6 separate regions of the Homo sapiens genome follow, and regions 2, 3, 4, 5 and 6 are each linked to region 1. Evidence: promoter capture Hi-C in 16 types of primary human blood cells and fetal thymus (Javierre and others, 2016). All regions are on one chromosome and are shown on one strand. Each heading gives the region's core, a stretch centred on a gene start or on the middle of the fragment in contact. The rest is flanking DNA. Distances are from core to core; before and after follow the strand shown.

Region 1 (3,640 bases), core at 970-3,469:
TGCCTCAGCCTCCCCAGTAGCTGGGATTACAGGCACGTACCACCATGCCCAGCTAATTTTTGTATTTTTAGTAGAGACAGGGTTTCACCATGTTGGCCAGGCTGGTCTCGAACTCCTGACCTCGTGATCTGCCTGCCTCGGCCTCCTAAAGTGCTGGGATTACAGGCTTTAGCCACCGTGCCAGGCCAAATTTTTTTAAAAAAATTAGCCAGGTGTGGTGGGTGCCGGTAGTCCCAGCTATTCGCGAGGCTGAGGCAGAGAGAATCGCTTGAGCTCAGGAGTCTGCAGTGAGCTATGATCACACCAGTGCACTCCAGCCTGGGTGACAGGCTAAAAGAATATATATACATATCTCTCTATAAAATATATGAAAATACAAAACAGAAATCAAAATTTAAGTTTTACGTTATTTCCACAGAAGATATTGTTAGTGATACCCCCTTTTTTTTTGCTCCTCTTTGCTTATCTTATGTTCTGAAATTAACATTTATCATTTTTGAATGATGGAAAATATATTTTACAGGAGCACCGTTGGAGTCTTTCACTTAACACTGCCTCCCAACCAGGCCAGTGGTCATGTAAATTAAGTCAATTGTCATAAAAGGGCTTGGAAGTTTCAAGGTAGTTAGCCAAAATAATTAAAATCCTGGTGAAATTTCACAGAGCTGGCCATTGAGCTTTGACTCCACTGACATGAGGCTGCTGTAAACAGACACCAGGCTCCATGTTTTCAAAAGGCCTAAAAACAGCACAAAATAAAATATAACAACGATTGTTCATGTAAAGGGCCACGTGCCATCTCTGTCCTGAGCAAATGTAACCTGAAACCCTCTCTGTCTGGCACTCCGGGTTGGCGGCACCTCTCTGGACGGTGTATTTGCTCTCCATTACTCAATTTACTTTCCTGAACTTGAAATGGAGTGGAATTTCAATGTAGAGTTACCCATTAGCTCCAGGGCTAAATTTAAACCTTTAATTAAATTAATCCGTTGATCTGAAACACATTGCTTCTCCCTCAAAAGTGCAGCAGGTTTCTTAGGTGTCACAGAGCTTAATTCAGTGTGGCAATTGTTCCTTACTGCATTTGTTAAGTTGCCCATACCGCCTGGGGAAACCCGCACACGTTTTCAGATCCCTCCAGGTGAACTCCTCCACCCTGTCCCCGCCCCCGCCCCCACCCCCAACCAAAACAAGCATTCGTTGTGGGTGGGGACTGCGACTCCTCCCAGATTCAGAGCTACTGCTCTGGGAGGGCCGTCAGGAACCCGTATTTATAGAAGACATGGTAGGTGCCAAACGTGCTTATGAGATAAACGACAGGGTAACTGTCCACATTGGTCCCAGTTTATGAGGGAGAAGAGATCATAATCTACAAAAATTTGCAAGGTGACCAGGGGAAAAGAGTGTAAGGTCATTTTAGCCCACCTGGGTCTTCACAGAAAATGGAGCACATTTCAGAGCCAAAGTAAAAAATTTGCGTTGTCCTTTGCTAAGAGAGAGATGAAAAGTGACAATACCATGGATTGGGGATGCGTGAGTTCGTTGGCCACATGTAAGATGTTCGTGCTTCTGGGCTCTTATGCATCCCAAGGCGTGCATTTATCCCGGGGGCTGCATCCTTGGCCTGGGAATGAATAGACCCAACTGCAATGGTTGTTAGCGATAGCTTTACGGTGGGACAGTCTCCATAGGGGCTGTGGACTTACCCGTGTTATTATGAAAAGGATCTATTTACTTCTCGGGGACCAACGGCCTTGCGGGGTCCAAGTAACTCGCTCGCAGTCCAAAACTCTGCAACGCTCCACATAACCGTCCTGTAGACCCACAACTCTCCCAGGAGCACAGCCCCAGGACCTAACCCACCGGGTTCTGCTCGCTCACCCAATTCCCAGTGCGAGCGCGCGGGGGAAACGTGCTCGCCTCCCGCACCTGGCTTCCGCGGCCCCGGGAGTCGCCAACTCTCCCAGCAGGCAGCTCCGACAACCCGGACAGCCGGGCCGATCCCCCGCCCCACCACCCGCTCGGCTCTCGCGTCCTCCTCTTCCTCCTCCCGTGGCCCCTTGCCTCCCGCCGTCTGCCTCTGCGGCCGCCGCCTGCGGCTTTGTTTTCCTCCCAGGTCGCATTCCCCACACGTGATTCCGTGTTATTGCAAAGAGGGCTTTGGAGCGCGAGCGCGGGGCGCGCGCACCTATAAATACGGACACCCGGCCCCGGAGCCCGCGAGCCAGCGGCCAGGCGACCGGCGGGCGGCCAGCCAGCGAGCCGAACTAGCCGAGCTAGGTAGCGAGGCGTGCGCGTGGGCCGGGGCGGCGGCGCCCCCATCCCCAGCACCGAGGGGCGAGCATGGCCCGCCCGCGGGGGGGCTGGACCGCCGCGCACGCCGCCCGATCCCCGCGCCCTACCCAGCCCGGGTCGCCGCCGCTCGCGCCCGCCGCTTAGCGCTCGGGCGCCGCTCGCTTCTCCGGGCATCGCGGAAATCCCGCCGCAGACGGACACAATGGCGGCGGCGGCGGCGGCCGCCACCACGGCCGCCTGCAGCAGCGGCAGCGCCGGCACCGACGCCGCGGGCGCCAGCGGATTGCAGCAGCCGCCGCCGCAGCCCCAGCCTCAGCCCGCGGCCGCCGCGCCGGCCCAGCCGCCGCCCGAACCCCCCCGGAAGCCGCGCATGGACCCGCGGCGCCGCCAGGCTGCCCTCTCCTTCCTCACCAACATCTCGCTGGACGGCCGGCTGCCGCCGCAGGACGCGGAGTGGGGCGGTGGCGAGGAGGGCGGCGCGGCCAAGCCGGGCGCCGGCGGCGCCTGCGGCGCGAGGACTCGGTTCAGCTTGCTCGCCGCTGCCGAGCGGGGCGGCTGCATCGCGCTCGCCGCGCCGGGCACGCCGGCTGCGGGGTTAGCCGCTGGGTCCGGCCCCTGCCTCCCACAGCCCTCGTCGCTGCCGCCCTTGATTCCTGGCGGCCATGCGACCGTGTCCGGCCCCGGGGTGGCGCGGGGGTTCGCGAGTCCCCTGGGCGCCGGCCGGGCGTCGGGGGAGCAGTGGCAGCCGCCCCGGCCGGCGCCTCTCGCCGCCTGTGCCCAACTGCAGCTGCTCGACGGGTCCGGGGCCGCCGGGCAGGAGGAGTTGGAGGAGGACGATGCCTTTATCAGCGTGCAGGTGCCGGCGGCCGCCTTTTTGGGCTCCGGGACCCCCGGGAGTGGGAGCGGCAGTCGGGGACGCCTCAACTCGTTCACTCAGGGAATCCTGCCCATCGCCTTCTCCAGGCCGACTTCGCAGAACTACTGCTCCCTGGAGCAGCCAGGCCAGGGCGGCAGCACCAGCGCCTTCGAGCAGCTGCAGAGGTCCCGGTGAGTATCCGGGATGCGACGCGCACCCAACCCTGCGTCCCGCCCGGCGCTCCCAGCCTCCCCGCGGTCTCTGGGCTACGGGACACGGGTTGCTCCCATTTTCCCGCGCCCTGCCGGATCCTGTGCTCCGGGCCCGAATCCCAAACCACGAGGGCACCCAAAAGAGGGGGCGTCCCCAGGGAGTGCGGGGTTACACGTGTTTGCACGAGCCCAGCATTCGCAGAGGAGCACCGCGCTTGTGCAGTGGGTCGGGAATTGGGAGTTGCAGGAGCCCAGTAGAAAGCGGCGTCCGAGCCTC
Region 2 (3,726 bases), core at 538-3,037, 160 kb after region 1:
GTTTGGCAAGCCAGCTGCAAGGCTGGGCTCAGTGGGGCCTGTCTCCTGGAGCACCCATGCCTGGCCTCTCCTGCACAACAGCTCAGGGCTCCTGAGGCTGTCAGAAGACCAAGGCAGACACTGCAAGGCTGCTTTGACCTGGCCTTGGGAGTCACATAGCACCATTTCCATCACACCTTATTGGCTACAGGTAAGTCGCAGAGCCAGCCCAGACCCAAGAGAAAGGAACAGAACTGTATAGCAGAATGAATACCACTGGGATGGAGGTGGGGCATCTTTGGAGACAAGCCACCACTGCTTCTCTCCGGGCTGGGCTCAGGGACACAGCCTGAAGCCAGGGACATTGGGTGGGGCCAGGAGAAGCCCAAAAGTCTCACCCCTTTGACTGGCTTCCCCCAGAACAAGGATCAAAGGACCATTAAGTAACTTCAAATGAGTCCCAGCCACTTGAACTTCCAGCCAATTCCATATCCTATTTCAATACTTTGTCCAAGGCAACTTCTCAATAGAGATGTCATGTTCCAAGTATGACTAACTGCTTATGGTATTACCTGCTTGTGCTTTCACCCCAATCTGTGACTGTACTCCCTTTTTTGGGCATGCAGACCCAGTGAAAAGAATGGTGTCCTCTCCTGACATTGTCTCTCAGGGTCTGGAAGCTTTTCCTTCAATCTTCGAGCTCCTCACCTATCTGAACATGCCATTGCCTGCAACCAAGCTTGAGAACCAACAAACAGTGGCTGCGGGTTCTGGAAACACGCAGAGTGATAGTTCAGGTGAGAGCAGTGCCATTTCCCCAGTGCTCCTGGTTGCTCCAACCCCATTCACGAAGAGTCTCAGACAGAACCTGAGGGAGGAGGCTGGGGAAAGAAACTGGGACACTCTGGGAAGGCAGCTGCAGTGCAGGCCACAGACCCTGCCCGGTGGCAAAGGGAAGGAGCATGGCCTTCAGGAAGAGTCACAAATCACCTCAGAGATGTGAGGAATCCACACCTCAGCACTTCTTGGAGAACTGACAACCCCTGTGAAACACGGGGACCTCATTTCTCCTTCTCAACAGAACTCTCTAGCATGAAGGTTGAAAGCATGGGCTTTGAATAACCTAGATTCGAGTCCCAGCTGGGTGGGCCTGGAAAAGTTACTGAGTCTTTCTGATCTCCTTGGTAAAATGAAGAGAATGTCCCCTGCACTACCATTGGGAAGAATCAATGACAGGGAGCCTGGAGAGTACCCAGCACAATGCTTGGCATGAAATAGGCACCAGTAACTATAATCTTAAATATTATTATTGGGTCAGTAACCCCAGCAACCACCACCAACACCCCCTTCTTTTGCCACTTCCCTGGGCCCAGTGTAGATGAACTGCTCTAAATCAGCAATAAGGCCAGGCGTGGTGGCTCACGCCTATAATCCCAGCACTTTGGGAGGCCGAGGTGGGCGGATCACTTGAAGTCAGGAGTTCGGGACCAGCCTGACCAATGTTGTGAAACCCCATCTCTACTAAAAAGAAAATACAAAAGTAGCCAGGCTTGGTGGTGCATGCCTGTAATCCCAGCTACTTGGGAGGCAGAGGCAGGAGAATCGCTTGAACCTGGGAGGTAGAGGTTGCAGTGAGCCGAGATCGCGCCATTGCACTCCAGCCTGGGTGACAAGAGCGAAACTCCATCTCAAAAATAAATGAATGAATGAATGAATATAAATCAGCCATGACCAACAGACATATCATGGGAGCCACATCTATAAACTAAAATTTTCTAGCAGCCACGTTACAAAAGGTAAAGGGAAACAGGAGAAAGTAATGTTGATAGTACATTTTATTTAGCCCAATATATAAAAAATATTATTTCAACATGTAATCAATAGAAAAATGATGTGATATTTTACATTCTTTTTAAAAAATATTAAGTCTTTGAAACCAGTGTGTTCTTACACTTACAGCCCATCTGAATTTGGCCCAACCACACTCCAGTGCTCCAAAGCCATAGATGGCCAGGGGCATCCACACTGGACAGCACAGGGCTAGAGGCACTGGGTGGGCCCTTCTCTATTTCAAGCTCAGTGGTCTGGATGTGGGCAGAAAGAGGAGTCTGGATCTGGGTTAAAGCTACAAGAACTCCCTCCCCAGGGTTAACACCAATATTTTCTGTAACACTCCCCTGCCGGTATTGAAGAGAACAGAAAGAAGGGCAAAGGAAAGAAAATAAACAATTTATTTTTCTTTTATTGTTATTTTTAGAGACAGAGTTTGGCTCTGTTGCCCAGGCTGGAGTGCAGTGGCACAGTCATGGCTCATTGCAACCTTGACCCCTGAGCTCAAGCAATCCTTCTGCCTCAGCCTCCTGAGTAGCTGGGACTTACAGGCGTGAGCCACCATGCCTGGCTAATTTTTATTTTTTATTTTTGTAGCGATGGAGGTTCACTGTGTTGCCCAGACTGGTCTCAAACTCCTGGGTTCAATCAATCCTCCCACCTCAGCCTCCTAAAGTGCTGGGATTACAGGCTTGAGCCACCGTGACTGGCCCTTATTTTTCTTTATATCCACAGCATATTAGTAATAATACACCATTGTACACAACCTTGCCTCTCCTAATAGAAAGCACGTTCTTTCTTTATAGAAATAAAAGAAAAAAACCCAAATCCCAAGGCTCTGACTGAGGTCCAGCAAGGATTAAGGTCATCAGGTACCAAACAGGATCCAAGGGTAAATAAAGGGAGAGTGTGGGCTTACCTGGAGACTCCCTAAGCAGAAAATGAGAGCTTGGGGCTACAGTGAGGGGGCCACTCCACTGTTCAGGTCTGTGGGCTCATCCTTCATTCAGCGCTGAGCACGTGAATTTGGGCATAGAAGATGGTGGTTAAAGCTTGAATAAAAAGGCCCAAGAACCAATAGAAACTGACGGAAACTGATAGCATACTGACAAAACACCTTATCCTCTGCCTCTTGCTGGTGTCAATGTAAGAAAAGATCTGAGATTTTAAGAACAACAGGCAGGGGGCAACATAGTGAGACCCCATCTCTACAAAGAATAAAAAATTAGCTGGGTGGAGTGGTACGTGCCTGTAGTCCCAGGCACTTGGGAGGCTGGGGTGGGAGGACTGCTTGAGCCTGGGAGGTTGAAGCTGCAGTGAGCTGTGACTGCACCACTGCACTCGAGCCTGGGTAACACAGTGAACCCCTATCTCAAGCAAACGAAACAAAACAACAAACAAACCAAAAAACAAAGAGGACTCTGAAAGGTGTTTCAAACAACCAAACGAAAACAAATACAGGCTTGCTAGAGAACTATTTGAAAAAGGATCTAAAACTTCTCAGCCAAAGCTTTTGGGGCCAGTTCTGCTGGAAAGAGGACTGGGTTTAAACTGCATGGCTCTTTGCAGTCATCAGAACCTCCATTTGCTTAAATGGCACTTGGAAAGACAGGTATAAAATGACACTTGGACAGATGCCACTTTCTGCAAGTGGAAAAGAACTGGTCTCCATTGTATAGAGTTTTACAGGAGCAAGAGAATAAGGACAATTCTAAACCCAGATTTTCTATTTGACCCTCAGTCTCTAGAAAGTTTGACATCCTAGATGAAGAACAAAAGTAAGTTGAACACGGACACAGAGAGAGGAACAACATACACCGGGCCTGTCGGGGGGTGGGGAGGGAGGGAGAATATTAGGAAAAATAGCCAATGCATGCTGGGCTTAATATCTAGGTGACTGGTGGATAGGTGCAGCAA
Region 3 (3,840 bases), core at 578-3,077, 130 kb after region 1:
AAATAAACACTGGTTGAGTTAAATGAGCCATCGCAAAACAAATTACCCCACTGGGTGGATTGTTCCCTGCAACTCTGAATCAGCTTTCTGCTCAGCATCTGTGTTAGAGAGTTCTTGCATTGCTATAAAGAAATGCTTGAGACTGGGTAATTTACAAAGAAAAGAGGCTTAATTGCCTGCTGGTTCTGCAGGTGCCAGTGTCTGCTCAGCTTCTGGAGAGGCCTCAGGGAGCTTTTATTCATGCCAGAAGGCAAAGCGGGAACAGGCACGCTACACAGCAAAACAGGAGCAAGAGGGGTGGGAAGGTGCCACACTTTATTCCTTTTTTTTTTTTTTTTTTTTTTTTTTTGAGACGGAGTCTCGCCCTATCACCCAGGCTGGAGTGCAGTGGTGCGATCTCGGCTCACTGCAACCTCTGCCTCCCAGGTTCAAGCGATTCTCCTGCCCCAGCCTCCTGAGTAGCTGGGATCACAGGCGCGCGCCACTACGCCCGGCTAATTTTTGTATTTTTAGTAGAGACAGGGTTTCACTATGTTGGTCAGGCTGGTCTCGAACTCTTGACCTCGTGATCCGTCTGCCTCGGCCTCCCAAAGTGCTGGGATTATAGGCATGAGCCACCGTGCCCAGCCGTCATTTTTTTATTTTGAGACAGGTTCTCACTCTATTGCCCAGGTGGAGAGCAGGGGTGCAATCATGGCTTGCTGCAGGCTCAATCGACTCTCCCACCTCAGTCTCCCAAATAGGCTGGGATTACAGGTGCATCACGCCACGCCCAGCTGATTTTTGTATTTTTTGTAGAGATGAGGTTTCACCATGTTGCTCAGGCTGGTTTCAAACTTGTGGGCTCAAGCGATCCTCCCATCTCAGCCACCCAAATTACCGGGATTACAAGCATGAGCCACCGTGCCCGGCCTACACTTTTAAATAACCAGATCTCGTGAGGATTCACTCACTATCGTGAGGACAGCACCAAGCTATTCATGAGGGATCCACCCCCATGACCCAAACATCTCCCACCAGGCCCCACCTACAACATTAGGAATTACTTTTCAACATGAAATTTGGGTGGGGATAAATATCCAGCCACATCCGCATCTCACTCAGGGCTGACTCTGCAGATCCCAGCACCCAGGTTTCCTTGCCCTCCAGCTTCTGGTTAGGCTCTGGAAGGAGAGACACTGACCAGAAATGAGAGAGCAGGAGGAGAACGGGAACTGGGGTGTGTGTTCCACGGCCCAGCCTCCACCCCAGCCAAGGGGCCCTGCTAGTCCCGGGATCTCACCACCCCTTCTTGGACAGTTCCTTCACTAAACTCACTCAATTTCTCCCAATGCACGAGCCATCAAGTTCATGCTGTGGCTTTGGCCAATACACCCAGTTGGCAGAGTAGGAAACGGTGTCTCATCAAGTACGGGCAATCTGGGGTTGTCTATAACCCCAAAGCATTCTGGAAACAAGCAGTAGGAATCGTCCCCCCAAAGCACCAAGAATGGATAGGAACAGTCAAAAATATCACATGGCTCTCAAAAAAAAAAAAAAAAACCAGAAAGGAAAAAAGTTTGGCTACAATGACCCTGGCCTTGAAGCAGCCCAATGGGCACTTCCCACCAGCCCAGACCCCTCCCAACAGCTGCCGTGGCCCCACTGAGACTTTGGAGTTCTTGGGAGTTCTCTTATGAGGGTCATCTGAACAGAAGCTGATCATAAAAGATGACCAAAAAGAAATCTCTCTCCCCACTGGAGAGGGTGGATGGCACACTCTGCCGGAACCACTTGCTATAAATTATTTTTTAAAAATCGTGGCTTCCAGAAAAAGGAAGCAGATCGCCTCTGAGGCTTATCTAGAAGGCCCTGATGAAGCATACATACTGTTCTATGAGTGTCTAAGCCAGATACCATGTTCCCTAAGGCAGCTGCCTTCTCCATGAAATCAATTTTCATTTTTATTTATAAAATAAAAACAAGACACAAATGAGAATTGCTTACTTTCCCCCCTTCTTTCCAGTATGTGTTGGAGAGAGTGACAGATACTCTCAGGGGAAGCCTCAGGGGAAGCCTGGGGCCAGAACGGTTTTTGGAAAAATATGCAGCCGGAAGGGGCCATTTCTCAGAAGCAGCCCTTAGGGAGCCCAGGGGCAGCTGACACTAGGAGGAGCAGGCACTGGAAGGCAGGAAAAGGTTCCAGAGCTAGGCAGACCGTGCGGCCTTATGCAAGCCACTGGCCAGCCCATGCCTGCTGGGGGTCATAGTACCTCCCATCAGAGGGACTCTGGAAGATGGCACAGTAAACCCCTGGCCCAGGGCCTGGCATACAGTAGGCACTCAATAGATGAAAACAATTACTATTTTTACCTCCATTGAACTTAATTCTTAGCAAAAAAAAAAAAAAAAACAAATCCTGCTTTATAGAGAAAGAGATTGGAGCACAGATAGGTGCCTAGGGCCAAATTTGGACCATAAAATACATTCAGATTCCATTCCGTTCTTGTCCCCCACTGCTCAGGCAGAGTGTCGGTGACAACTCAGGGAATGCAGGAGCTGGGACCGGTGATGTCCTTGAAGAGGCACAGTGGTCTCTTCAACCAGGTGGCTTCACAGCCATTAGCCAACAAATGGACTTCAGGTGTTTTTCTGCTTTCTTGAAACCAAATTCCCCCAGGTGCTTACTTGAGCAGCTCAATGGGGTGATTATGAGGCCCCTGTGGCCTTGAGGCTTCCTCTCCAGTGATGACAAGGTCGCCTGGCCAACTCACCTGGACAGCTGCCCTCAAACGTGGCCCTTGGAGCCCCCTCAGCGGCACCCGCCCTGCAGAGCAGCTTGTTGGATTCTCTCACTCTCCTCCCCCAGAGAGGCTCCCTCGCCGAAGCTCAGGGAGTGACTCCTGGTTCGCTGATGAGGGGCTGGTGGGCTGCCTTGCCTGCTGGTCTGTGTCCCCACCTAGCCTAGGCCCCCCACTCCAGGGCAGAGCATCCGACCAACAGACCACAGAGGTAGAGCTGTGCCCACACTCTGCCCTAAACCGCATCTGCATGGGGCCTGACCCAGAAGAAGGTGCTTGCCCTGCCGCCCCACAGTGAGAGCTCTAAACCAGAGCCTGGCTGAAAATGGGGCTGCCCCTTGCTGCTGACTTGAGGAACCGGGGGCAGTTTTGTGAGACGCGATGTGGCCTCACCTCATTCCTGGTAAGATTCAGCCACATTCTTCACTGACACCACCCTCGGTCTCTTCCGCTGTCCAGCGTGCACATGGCCTCAGGACACCACTGGGGGTTGCAGGTGAATTTCAGGGTGTCTATGACACACTGCCAAGCCCACGCTCCTCTCAAGTTCAGCTCAGACTCTATAGGCTCTTCTGAACGGGCGCTTCCTGCCCCTTCCACCTGTCCCGTGCCAGCCCTGGTGGCTCTCTAGGTTGTTCTGCACTCCCTCCACCCCGGCCCACTTCCTGCCCCCAATCTTCTCAATAGGGACTTGCTTTCCTCCCCCCAGGACACTCCTCTAGCTCTTGTTCTGTGCCACACAGTTGCTCTTCCTGCTGCCTCTGTCATGGCTCTCCGGCTGCCCACTCCCTGCACTGTCGGCCCTCAGCCAGCTTCTCCCTAAAGTGCCTCCTTCCCTTCGCCCTGACTCTGTCCCGTTCCTCTGCACCTCTGCTTCACATCTGGGGTCCCCTGCCCCATCCTCTTTCCTTCCTTAGCGCTCCCTTAGGTCCTCAGCCACTCCCTGCCTGGCTGGCTGCACTAGGGTGTCCTGTTGCCCATCTTGTCACACAGCCCCTTTTCCCCACAAGGCCTCCTCAGGCCCCTGGCACACAGGCCCGCACCATGTGCACTGAACAGA
Region 4 (4,055 bases), core at 1,541-4,040, 190 kb after region 1:
AGGAGACCCATCTCACGTGCAAAGACGCACATAGGCTCAAAATAAAGGGATGCAGGAAGATCTACCAAGCAAATGGAAAGAAAAAAAAGCACAGGTTGCAATCCTAGTCTCTGACAAAACAGACTTTAAACCAACAAAGTTCAAAAGAGACAAAGAAGTCCATTACATAATGGTAAAGGGATCAATTCAACAAGAAGAGCTAACTATCCTAAATATATATGCACCCAATACAGGAGCACCCATATTCATAAAGCAAGTCCTTAGAGACCTACAAAGAGACTTAGACTCCCACACAATAATAATGGGAGATTTTAACACCCCACTGTCAATATTAAACAGATCAACAAGACAGAAGGTTAACAAGGATATCCAGGACTTGAACTCAGCTCTGCCACAAGCAGACCTAATAGACATCTACAGAACTCTCCACCCCAAATCAACAGAATACACATTCTTCTCAGCACCACATTGCACGTATTCTAAAATTGATCACATAATTGGAAGTAAAGCACTCCTCAGCAAATGTAAAAGAACAGAAATCACAACAAACTGTCTCTCAGACCACAGTGCAATCAAATTAGAACTCAGGATTAAGAAACTCACTCAAAACCGCACAACTGGAAACTGAACAACTTGCTCCTGAATGACTACTGGGTAAATAATGAAATGAAGGCAGAAATAAAGATGTGCTTTGAAACCAATAAGAACAAAGACACAATGTACCAGAATCTCTGGGACACATTTAAAGCAGTATGTAGAGGGAAATTTATAGCACTAAATGCCCACAAGAGAAAGCAGGAAAGATCTAAAATCAACACCCTAACATCATAATTAAAAGAACTGGAAAAGCAAGAACAAACAAATTCAAAAACTAGCAGAAGGCAAGAAATAACTAAGATCAGAGCAGAACTGAAGGAGATAGAGACACAAAAAACCCTTCAAAAAAATCAATGAATCCAGGAGCTGGTTTTTTGAAAAGATCAACAAAACTGATAGACCACTAGCAAGATTAATAAAGAAGAAAAGAGAGAAGAATCAAATAGATGCAATAAAAAATGATAAAGGGGATATCACCACTGATCCCACAGAAATACAAACTACCACCAGAGAATACTATAAACACCTCTACGCAAATAAACTAGAAAATCTAGAAGAAATGGATAAATTCCTGGACACATACACCCTCCCAAGACTAAACCAGGAAGAAGTTGAATCTCTGAATAGACCAATAACAGGCTCTGAAATTGAGGCAATAATTAATAGCCTACCAACCAAAAAGAGTCCAGGACCAGACGGATTCACAGCCAAATTCTACCAGAGGTACAAAGAGGAGCTGGTACCATTCCTTCTGAAACTATTCCAATCAATAGAAAAAAAAATAGGGAATCCTCTAAAACTCATTTTATGAGGGCAGCATCATCCTGATACCAAAGCTTGGCAGAGACACAACAAAAAAAGAGAATTTTAGACCAATATCCCTGATGAACATCAATGCAAAAATCCTCAATAAAATACTGGCAAACCGAATCCAGCAGCACATCAAAAAGCTTATCCGCCATGATCAAGTCGGCTTCATCCCTGGGATGCAAGGCTGATTCAACATACGCAAATCAATAAAGTAATCCATCACATGAACAGAACTAACAACAAAAACCACATGATTATCTCAATAGATGCAGAAAAGGCCTTTGACAAAATTCAACAACGCTTCATGCTAAAAACTCTCAATAAATTAGGTATTGATGGGACGTATCTCAAAATAGTAAGAGCTATTTATGACAAACCTACAGCCAATATCATACTGAATGGGCAAAAACTGGAAGCATTCCCTTTGAAAACTGGCACAAGACAGGGATGCCCTCTCTCACCACTCCTGTTCAACATAGTGTTGGAAGTTCTGGCCAGGGCAATCAGGCAGGAGAAAGAAATAAAGGGTATTCAATTAGGAAAAGAGGAAGTCAAATTGTCTCTATTTGCAGATGACATGGTTGTATATTTAGAAAACCCCATTGTCTCAGCTCAAAATCTCCTTAAGCTGATAAGCAACTTCCGGAAAGTCTCAGGATACAAAATCAATGTGCAAAAATCATAAGCATTCCTATACACCAATAATAGATAAACAGAGAGCCAAATCATGAGTGAAGTCCCATTCACAATTGCTACAAAGAGAATAAAATACCTAGGAATCCAACTCACAAGGGATGTAAAGGACCTCCTCAAGGAGAACTACATACCACTGCTCAACAAAATAAAAGAGGACACAAACAAATGGAAGAATATTCCATGCTCATGGATAGGAAGAATCAATATCGTGAAAATGGCCATACTGCCCAAGGTAATTTATAGATTCAATGCCATCCCCATCAAGCTACCAATGACTTTCTTCACAGAATTGGAAAAAAACTACTTTAAAGTTCATATGGAATCAAAAAAGAGCCCGCATTGCCAAGACAATCCTAAGCCAAAAGAACAAAGCTGGAGGCATCACGCTACCTGACTTCAAACTATACTACAAGGCTACAGTAATCAAAACAGCACAGTACTGGTACCAAAACAGAGATATAGACCAATAGAACAGGACAGAGGCCTCATAAATAACACCACACATCTACAACCATCTGATCTTTGACAAACCTGTCAAAAACAAGAAACAGGGAAAAGATTCCCTATTTAATAAATGGTGCTGGGAAAACTGGCTAGCCATATGTAGAAAGCTGAAACTGGATCCCTTCCTTACACCTTATACAAAAATTAATTCAAGATGGACTAAAGACTTAAATGTTAGACCTAAAACCATAAAAACCCTAGAAGAAAACCTAGGCAATACCATTCAGGACATAGGCATGGGCAAGGACTTCATGACTAAAACACCACAAGCAATGGCAGCAAAAGCCAAAATTGACAAATGGGATCTAATTAAACTAAAGAGCTTCTGTATGGCAAAAGAAAATACCATCAGAGTGAACAGGCAACCTACAGAATGGGAGAAAATTTTTGCAATCTATCCTTCTGACAAAGGGCTAATATCCAGAGTCTACAAAGAACTCAAACAAATTTACAAGAAAAAAACAAACCACCCCATCAATAAGTGGGCAAAGGATGTAACAGACACTTCTCAAAAGAAGACATCTATGCAGCCAACAGACACATGAAAAAATGCTCATCATCACTGGTCATCAGAGAAATGCAAATCAAAACTACAATGAGATACCATCTCATGCCAGTTAGAATGGCAATCATTAAAAAGTCGGGAAACAACAGATGCTGGAGAGGATGTGGAGAAATAGGAACGCTTTTACACTGTTGGTGGGAGTGTAAATTAGTTCAACCATTGTGGAAGACAGTGTGGCGATTCCTCAAGGATCTAGAATTAGAATTACCATTTGACCCAGCAATCCTATTACTGGGTATATACCCAAAGGATTATAAATCATGGTACTATAAAGACACATGCACATGTATGTTTATTGCAGCACTATTCACAATAGCAAAGACTTGGAACTAACCCCAATGTCCATCAATGACAGACTGGATTAAGAAACTGTGGCACATATATACCATGGAATACTATGCAGCCATAAAAAGGATGAGTTAATGTCCTTTGCACGACATGGATGAAGCTGGAAACCATCAATCTGAGCTATCACAAGGATAGAAAACCAAACACAACATGTTTTCTCTCAGGTGGGAACTGAACAATGAGATCACTTGGACACAGGGTGGGGAACACCACACAACGGGGCCTGTCGGGGATGGGAGGCTGGGGGAAGGATAGCATTAGGAGAAATACCTAATGTAAATGATGAGTTGATGGGTGCAGCAAACCAACATGGCAGGTGTATACCTATGCATCAGATTTGCATGTTGCGCACATGTACCCTAGAACCTAAAGTATAAAAAAAAAGAACAAAAAAAGAAACCCAACAGGTGAAGAACAATCCCATTTCTGTAAAAACAGAAAACCTCAGGAATGTGTGTATAAAAAAAATTTCCCAAAGAATATACTCTAAAATGTCTATTATGGTAGAGTCCCATAAGCTTTTTTTTCATTTACT
Region 5 (3,674 bases), core at 27-2,526, 170 kb after region 1:
ACGCCTCCACCACCACCTTGCCAAACCCTGCTCTTCACACAACATTCTCCATCTCAGTAAAGGCAACCTCATTCTTTCATTGCTCGGAACCCAAACCTAGAAGTCATCCTAGACTCCCCTCTCTCAAATCCTAGTGCCTCAGATATCCTACCATGTCTCCCCACCTCCACTGCTATCAGCCAGTTCTCAGCCATCATCATCTTGCACCTAGATCATGGCAAGAGCCCCTGGTCTTCTTGCTTCCTCCCCACCCCTTGGCACCGTTGTCCCCCAGCATCCCCATGGCTCACTCCCTCACTTCCTTCTGGTCTCTGCTCAGACAGCTTAGTGAGGCATGCTGTCTTTATGCAAATGGGTAGTGCATTCTAAACAGGATCATTTGGAGCTTATCTGAAAGTTAATGGAAAAATCAAAGAAATGGAAAGACACCCAAACACAGCACGTGTTTTCTCTCTCTCTCTCTCTCTCTCTCTCTCTGTGTGTGTGTGTGTGTGTGTGTGTATACAGTTGCCCCTCAGTACCTAAAGGGGATCTGTTCCAGGACGTCCATGGGTTGTCAAGTCTCTTATATAAAATGGTGTCGTGTTTGCCTACAACCCATGCACATCCTCCTGTATATTTTAAATCATCTCTAGATTACTTGTAATATCAAATACAATGTAAATGCTATGTAAATAGTTGTTATACTGTACTGTTTAGGAAATAATAACAAGAAAAAAAGTCTGTACATGTTCAGTACAGATGCAACCATTGCAGGCCTAAACTGCATTGTTGACCCACAGTTGGTTTAATCTGAGGATCTGGAACCTGTTCATGCAAAGGGCTGATTGTGTGTGTGTGTGTGTGTGTGTGTGTGTGTGTGTATAGTGGTTTACTAAACATTACATATTATTATACATATTATATTATACATATTATGCATATACATACATATATATACACATAGTGGTTGACCAGCAGTGGCTGCCCTGGGGTGGAGGAGTGAGGGTGATGTTCTGTTTCTTGCTCTGGATGCTGGTTATGGTATACAGAATGGTTGGTTTGTACAAATCCATCAAGTAGTATATTTATGATATATGCACTCTTCCCAATTTGTATTTACAGGTCAATACAAGTTTTTTTTTTTTTAAAGAAAGCTTCGCTAATATGAGATTTGCATTTGGATGGAGATACACAGCCAACGCACACTCCCTTTCTGCAACATTTGAGAGCAAAATTTAGTATCCTGATGAAACTCAGTAACTAATTGGCACTTTATCTCTCTATGCAAAAGACTTACCATCCCGTGGTTGCACTGGTCAGGATCGCATCAAACAGCAATATTGATAAGCCAGCTGTGATTATCTGTAGAAATAATTTCAACACAAGGTCATCATACCAGCAGGGCTCTGGAAACCTCCAATGTCATTTTTTTCACAAGCTTAGCTCACTTGAGTTCGGATGCCTGCCATCAGGCACTTCGTTCCACTTCCCGTGTCCTTTTCCCCACACGCTTCCTAGTCAGCCCCCTGTACTTAGCGGTGCCTCTGAGCCAAGCATTTGGTGTAGAAAAGGCTAAGTCTTAGTCTGTTTTGGAGGTGAGAATGTTCAAAGAAGCATTTAACTTCCAAATTCTTCAAAAGGGAGGCGCACAGCCAAGGCCGCCCTCATCTCTCTCCAGGGAAGGGGTATATTAAGAAAACTCATTTCCATTTTGTCTCAGCAGTGCAGAACTCGTCTCCAAGGTCAGATGTGCTCATTAACCTGTTCTCGGATCCTCCAGATAAAAACTTATCTGTCACCCAGCCTTTGTCCAATGCACCATCTCTCCGTCCTCACCTAATGCTCCCATCTTTCTGATCCATGACACATTCTAAGAAACCAGGTGCATCCTGGGGAAAGGAGTGATTAAATCATTAATTAATTATTTGCAAATATCTAGAAGCCAGAGGAGAGGGAAGAGGTTACCTCCACATCTCTCAAGGCTGGAAATTCCAGAAAGGTGTCTCAGGAATGGCAGCCACAGGACTCAGACCCCAGAAGTGCCTCGAACCCCCCAGCACCAAGAGAGTGTGTGAACCAGTGGCCCCGCTCTGTCCACACTTGGAATGTCTGCTTAAGGAAAGATGTTTCTGGCTTCCAGTCTTCCACATCCTGCAGGTCAAAACAGCTTCCATGGGGAAGGTAAGCTTAAGAAACTGCTTTCTTGCAGTGAGAGGTGGGATGTAGGCCAGGTTGGGAGAGGTTCAGCTACCATCTCCCTCAAGGGGATTTCATGTGCTGTCTTGGAGGCCTCTTTGGGTCTCCAAGCTGGGAGCAAGGCAGCAGACAGACAAGCAGAAGGAAGGAGTATGTTTATGAACCTCATCGTCACGCATTACCATCTCAGAAAGAAGTCTGGAACTACAAATACAGAATTCTCATGATAGGATATAAACATGGTGAGATTTTGGAACTTTTCTTTGTAGTTAAGTCATTTGGTATCACTTTCTGCCTCGCTTTATTGATTTGTAGCAAAAACCTTGATTACAAAAAAAGACCTGGGTATTGTCCTCAGGGGCAATAAAGAAGTAGAAGCCCAGCCAGACAGACAATTACAAGAATACAAAGGATAGGGAAAGAGATTTCTCTAAGTGGAGACTAGTGGTGGCTTTTTCTCAAAGATCATATTGAATGACAACTTTTGAGCTGATGCGCATGATGAATGTCCCTCTTTTCTCTTCCCTTTTTTTTTTTTTTTGAGACAGGGTCTCGCTTTGTCGCCCAGGCTGGAGTGCAGTGGCGTGATCTCAGCTCACTGTAGCCTCGACCTCCCAGGACTCAAGCACTCCTCCCGAGTAGCTGGGCCTATAGGCATACACTGCCACACCCAGCTAATTTTTAATATTTGTTTGTAGAGACAACGTCTCACTTTGTTGCCCAGGCTGGTCTTGAACTCCTGGGCTCAAGCAATCCCACCCGCCTTGGCCTCCCAAAGTGCTGGAATTATAGGCGTGAGCCACCGTGCCTGGCCCTTCTTTTTTTTTTTTTTATTAACATTTAATTTAGGACTTCTGCATCTATGGTCATAAATGAAGTGGACTAAAATGTTATTACCTCTCAATGCAATTGTCTGGTCTTGGAAACAATGTTGTACTAACCACATAAGTGAGTTCATCAGCTTCTCTGCTTATTATCCTGCAACAGTTATAGATGATCTTGACTCTGAAAGTTACCCGTGACTTGAAGGCCCCTGGATCTAGATCTCCTAGCTGGGGGTGATCTTTAATAGCTATTAGCCTAATCAAGTCTTCTCTTTCTCATTGTTGCATATTTTCCATTTTCACTTTTCCTCAAAATGTATTTCATCTAGGTCTCCCAATTCATTAATATTTAGCTGTTTGAAGAAATATTTTACATTGTTTGTGCCTGTTTGATTACCTTCCTTTTTTGTAATGTTTCTCTTCATTCCCCCCACCCCCTTCATTAGTCTTGACTGAAGTTAACTATGTTGTTAGTCATTCTTTCCTTTTGCAACTTCTTAGACATGGCCTGGGACGGTGCCAATGGAGATGTATTTCTTGGACTTGCTGAGAAAGGCTCCATCCCACTGATGGATGTTGGCTGTGCTGGCAGCTCCGCATAATGGAACACTTCGCTTGATTTATAAAGGACCCAACTTGTCATTTCTATGTCCTCACCATTGTCTTTATTGT
Region 6 (3,620 bases), core at 994-3,493, 210 kb before region 1:
TAATTCTTCTTTAAGAAATTTCAAATATATTATTTCATTCTTACAACAACCCCTTTGAGCACAGTGAGTATTAATATCCTCTTTCAGTGAGGGAAATAAGACTTGTCTAGGAAACATGCAGATAATCAGAGATAGGGTCAGAATTTAATCTCTCATCCTATCTCCCAGCTCACGACTCTTTCCATAGTACAAGAAGGCTGGGAATATGGTTATATGCCAGCACTGACTGTAGAACATGATCACAATTTTTTGGAGCACTTCCTACTCTGTCCCTTCTGAGATTACAACATAATTTAAGACCCTTCAATCTACTTGATTTTAAATTTTGTACATGAAACAACTCACAACCAGGGCTGGGAAAGCTAGTATAACCATTGTTCTAATTCTATTAGAAGTAAATTTATATTCATTTCTCAAATGTACATATCTATTACAAGGCAAGTAAAAAAGCATATGTGCCAAAAATGCTAAGAAATAAATTAGCCTAAAAAATGAAGTGAGATGATTATAATAGGTGTTTCACTCCAATCCTGACTGAGAAAGTCCAGTTTATTTTCAGCTCTGAGGCTAATTAAATTACAATCAAATTTTAAAGTACTTTTAGTTACCTCCTACAGTGTAAAGCATTTTTTAGTTAGTTTGTTTTTGGTTTTTTTTTTTTTTTTTTTTGAGACGGAGTCTCACTCTGTCATCAGGCTGGAGTGCAGTGGTGCAATCTCAGGTCACTGCAACCTCTGCCTCCCTGGTTCAAGCAATTCTCCTGCCTCAGCCTCCTGAGTAGCTGGGACTACAGGTGCACACCACCACACCTGGCTAATTTTTGTGTTTTTAGTAGAGATGGGGTTTCACCACGTTGACGAGGATGGTCTTGATCTCTTGACCTCATGATCTGCCTGCCTCGGCCTCCCAAAGTGCTGGGATTACAGGCATGGGCCACTGCCCCCAGCCAAAGCTTTTTGAAGTAAAAAGAAAAATGTACTTGCTCTGTCACCCAGGTTGGAGTACAGTGCATGGCTCACTGCAGCCTCGTCTTCCTAGGCTCAAGAGATCTTCCCGCTTCAGCCTCCTGAGTAGCTGGGACCACAGGCATACACACCGTACCTGGCTAATTTGTTTTTATTTTTTATAGAAACAAAGCCTCACTATGTTGCCCAGGCTGGTCTCAAACTTCTGGGCTCAAGTGATCCTCCTGCCTTAGCCTCCCAAAATGCTGGGAGTACAGGCATGAGCCACTGCATCAGGCTCTGACCATATGGTTTACAGTCATCCAAACCAGGATGTTTTTTAAAGTAAAAGTGAGCTGTATTAATAATTAAGCTAGAGCAATAGGAATCAACCAGGACTGTCACTGGTAAGCTAGGGCATATGATCACCTCACATAAGAGGTCTACCATAACTGAGAAAAGGAAGGAAGCTTTTTTTTTTTTCTTTTTTTTGAGCCAGGGTCTCGCTTTGTCACCCAGAGTGTGAGCAAGGCTCACTGCAGCTTCGACCTCCTGGGCTCAAGCAATCCTCCCATCTTAGCCTCCCAAGTAGCTGAGGCTACACACAACACTGAACCCAGCTAGATTTATTTTTATTTTCTTGTAGAGACAGGGTCTTGTTATGTTGCCCAGGTTGGTCTCAAGCAATCCTCCCACCTAGACTTCCCAAAGTGCTGAGATTGTGGGCATGAGCTGCTGCACTTGGCCGGAAGCCTATCTATTTCAATTTTAGTATCCTAAATAGTCCACAAAAACAAACTGTCACCAAGAGTATGAACTGAATTAAAACACAATTTCACTGTACATTTTTAATCTTTCTGATTATAACTTACATAAAACTGAAAACATTTCTAGCTAAAACTCAGGATCTCCTTTAAGTACTGAACGTTGAACATAAAACATTTTTAAATTTTTTATTTTACCTTTGGAAAAGTAACTATCAAAGCTTCCTTAAACTTAGATTAACATGGATTAGAAAAAACAAAAAGCCAATATTTTAAACAAAGTCTTTTTTCTCAAGCATAATTAGAATAAAGACCAAAAAAAGACAGTGCGTTTAAAGATATATCTGTAATCTGTGAAGCACATAATTACATTAAAGATCACAACTATTTGCTGGCAGTGAATAAATCCATCAATTCACAGGTGAAAAAAATTAGTGTTTAAGATGCGATGATTTTTTCACATGGACAAAGCAATGAATATTAAACATGTTTGCTTGTGTGAACCTATCAAAGAATTCTTTAATTAATAGAATCCAAATGTCACTGACTTGTTCCGACGGTTAGCCCTTCATAATATTTTCCATTGCTGTAAATAAATATTACTCCCACAGCTTGTATCATGGTAGCATTATACATAGGTACAATGCAGTATAATACTTTAATAGACAAAATGGTAAAGATTTGTTTTTCGAGATTCTGAAAATAAAATAAACTTTTTTACTCTACAGTCTTAGTGATCACTCTTAAATTATCTTATTTTTTCAGCAGTTAAGTTCTGAGATCCTTTTAAGTGCCAGGGTTAGAAAAAAGGCTTATGGGCTAACCAACTAACAAAATTCCTGGGCTTCATAAGCTTATATGAATAGATACGAAATATTGTCCAAACAGCCACTGCATTATAAATAGATGACATGGAAGAAACAGGTGTCCCTTTCCATTCATAAGAAATCATTTTGCTGGCTGCGGTGGCTCACACCTGTAACCCCAGCACTTTGGGAGGCCAAGGCAGGTGGATCCCTTGAGGTCAGGAGTTCCAGACCAGCCTAGCCAAAATGGTGAAACCCTGTCTCTACTAAAAATACAAAAATTAGCCAGGCGTGGTGCCACATGTCTGTAATCCTAACTACTCAAGATGCTGAGGCAGGAGAATCACTTGAACCTGGGAGGCGGAGGTTGCAGTGAGCCAAGATCGTGCCACTGCACTCCAGCATGGGGGATAAGAGCAAGACTCTGTATCAAAATAAATAAATAAATAAAAAAGAAACCATTTTGCAAATAACAGATCAACAACGTTCTTCATCACCCCATTATAATTTAAACCTGGGCAACTATGAATATACTGTTTAACCTTCTTTATCAAGTATAAAGAGATAGTTCCTAAATCGGGCAAATTATGTGCCAGTAAAACTTTGGCCATTACTGATGGGAAATGAAGCAGCTTGGTGAATGATGTTTAAAAACAAACAGAAAACTATTTCAACAGATTAAAAAGGGAAACGAAGAAGGTATGAAGTCCAATGTAGCTAGAGTGAAGATCAAAATAAAGCTTCCTTATCTAAACTGGAAATTGGCCAGGCTACACGAGACTAATCTTTCTAATTAAAAAGCAAGGTATACTCTTTAATGTCCATTATGAGCATTTAAATGAACACCTAGAATATTGTCAAAATAAAAACTGTGATGCTGACATCTTCCACCAATGTTAAATATATATTTTTATACAATTATAAAACTTCTCAATCTGGAATCTTGGCACCATCAACTCAAATCATAAACAAAACATTTTGGCACTTGAGGCAAGATCACTGATTGATGTATACTCCCACTCACAAACAACACTTACTAATTACTGTAAACAACTTTTAAAAAATTGAATCAAGTGTTCATTCAAGTTAACACAAATGTTGCCAGT

The links. The method cuts DNA at HindIII sites, captures the fragments that hold promoters and counts their contacts. A CHiCAGO score of 5 or more calls a contact.
Region 2: a fragment that was not itself captured here is called in contact with the fragment with the promoter of CABLES1 in region 1 in 3 of 17 cell types (endothelial precursors, megakaryocytes and total B cells); the score reaches 6.7 in endothelial precursors.
Region 3: a fragment that was not itself captured here is called in contact with the fragment with the promoter of CABLES1 in region 1 in 5 of 17 cell types (megakaryocytes, endothelial precursors, M2 macrophages and 2 more); the score reaches 11.0 in megakaryocytes.
Region 4: a contact is called between a fragment that was not itself captured here and the fragment with the promoter of CABLES1 in region 1, in 1 of 17 cell types (total B cells). The highest score is 5.1, in total B cells.
Region 5: a fragment that was not itself captured here is called in contact with the fragment with the promoter of CABLES1 in region 1 in 5 of 17 cell types (endothelial precursors, total CD8 T cells, megakaryocytes and 2 more); the score reaches 10.6 in endothelial precursors.
Region 6: a fragment that was not itself captured here is called in contact with the fragment with the promoter of CABLES1 in region 1 in 3 of 17 cell types (naive CD4 T cells, total CD8 T cells and naive B cells); the score reaches 7.1 in naive CD4 T cells.

What each region holds. Positions count from the first base shown.
Region 1 is chr18:23,133,266-23,136,905 of GRCh38, forward strand. It overlaps CABLES1 (Cdk5 and Abl enzyme substrate 1), which reads left to right and starts at 2,220. Exons shown (of 10, transcript NM_001100619.3): 1 at 2,220-3,342. The coding sequence starts at 2,498. RefSeq lists silencers at 1,019-1,108, 1,119-1,228, 1,989-2,068, 2,189-2,398, 2,529-2,738 and 2 more and an enhancer at 1,419-1,568. The HindIII fragment of the contact is 5,609 bases long and covers 1-3,640 here.
Region 2 is chr18:23,291,576-23,295,301 of GRCh38, forward strand. It overlaps a transcript of SLC35D4 not described here. Among named protein-coding and RNA genes, the nearest start is that of SLC35D4, 140 kb to the right of the region's middle. The HindIII fragment of the contact is 2,143 bases long and covers 717-2,859 here.
Region 3 is chr18:23,264,032-23,267,871 of GRCh38, forward strand. It overlaps a transcript of SLC35D4 not described here. Among named protein-coding and RNA genes, the nearest start is that of CABLES1, 130 kb to the left of the region's middle. RefSeq lists an enhancer at 3,252-3,341. The HindIII fragment of the contact is 6,403 bases long and covers 1-3,840 here.
Region 4 is chr18:23,326,299-23,330,353 of GRCh38, forward strand. All of the region lies in intron 13 of SLC35D4 (solute carrier family 35 member D4), which reads right to left. Among named protein-coding and RNA genes, the nearest start is that of SLC35D4, 110 kb to the right of the region's middle. RefSeq lists an enhancer at 3,974-4,055. The HindIII fragment of the contact is 2,491 bases long and covers 1,546-4,036 here.
Region 5 is chr18:23,308,401-23,312,074 of GRCh38, forward strand. It overlaps SLC35D4 (solute carrier family 35 member D4), which reads right to left. Exons shown (of 15, transcript NM_032933.6): 14 at 1,280-1,344. Among named protein-coding and RNA genes, the nearest start is that of SLC35D4, 130 kb to the right of the region's middle. RefSeq lists an enhancer at 1-86. The HindIII fragment of the contact is 284 bases long and covers 1,135-1,418 here.
Region 6 is chr18:22,923,479-22,927,098 of GRCh38, forward strand. The region is part of intron 1 of RBBP8-AS1 (RBBP8 antisense RNA 1); the gene reads right to left. It also overlaps a transcript of RBBP8 not described here. Among named protein-coding and RNA genes, the nearest start is that of RBBP8, 8.0 kb to the right of the region's middle. The HindIII fragment of the contact is 632 bases long and covers 1,928-2,559 here.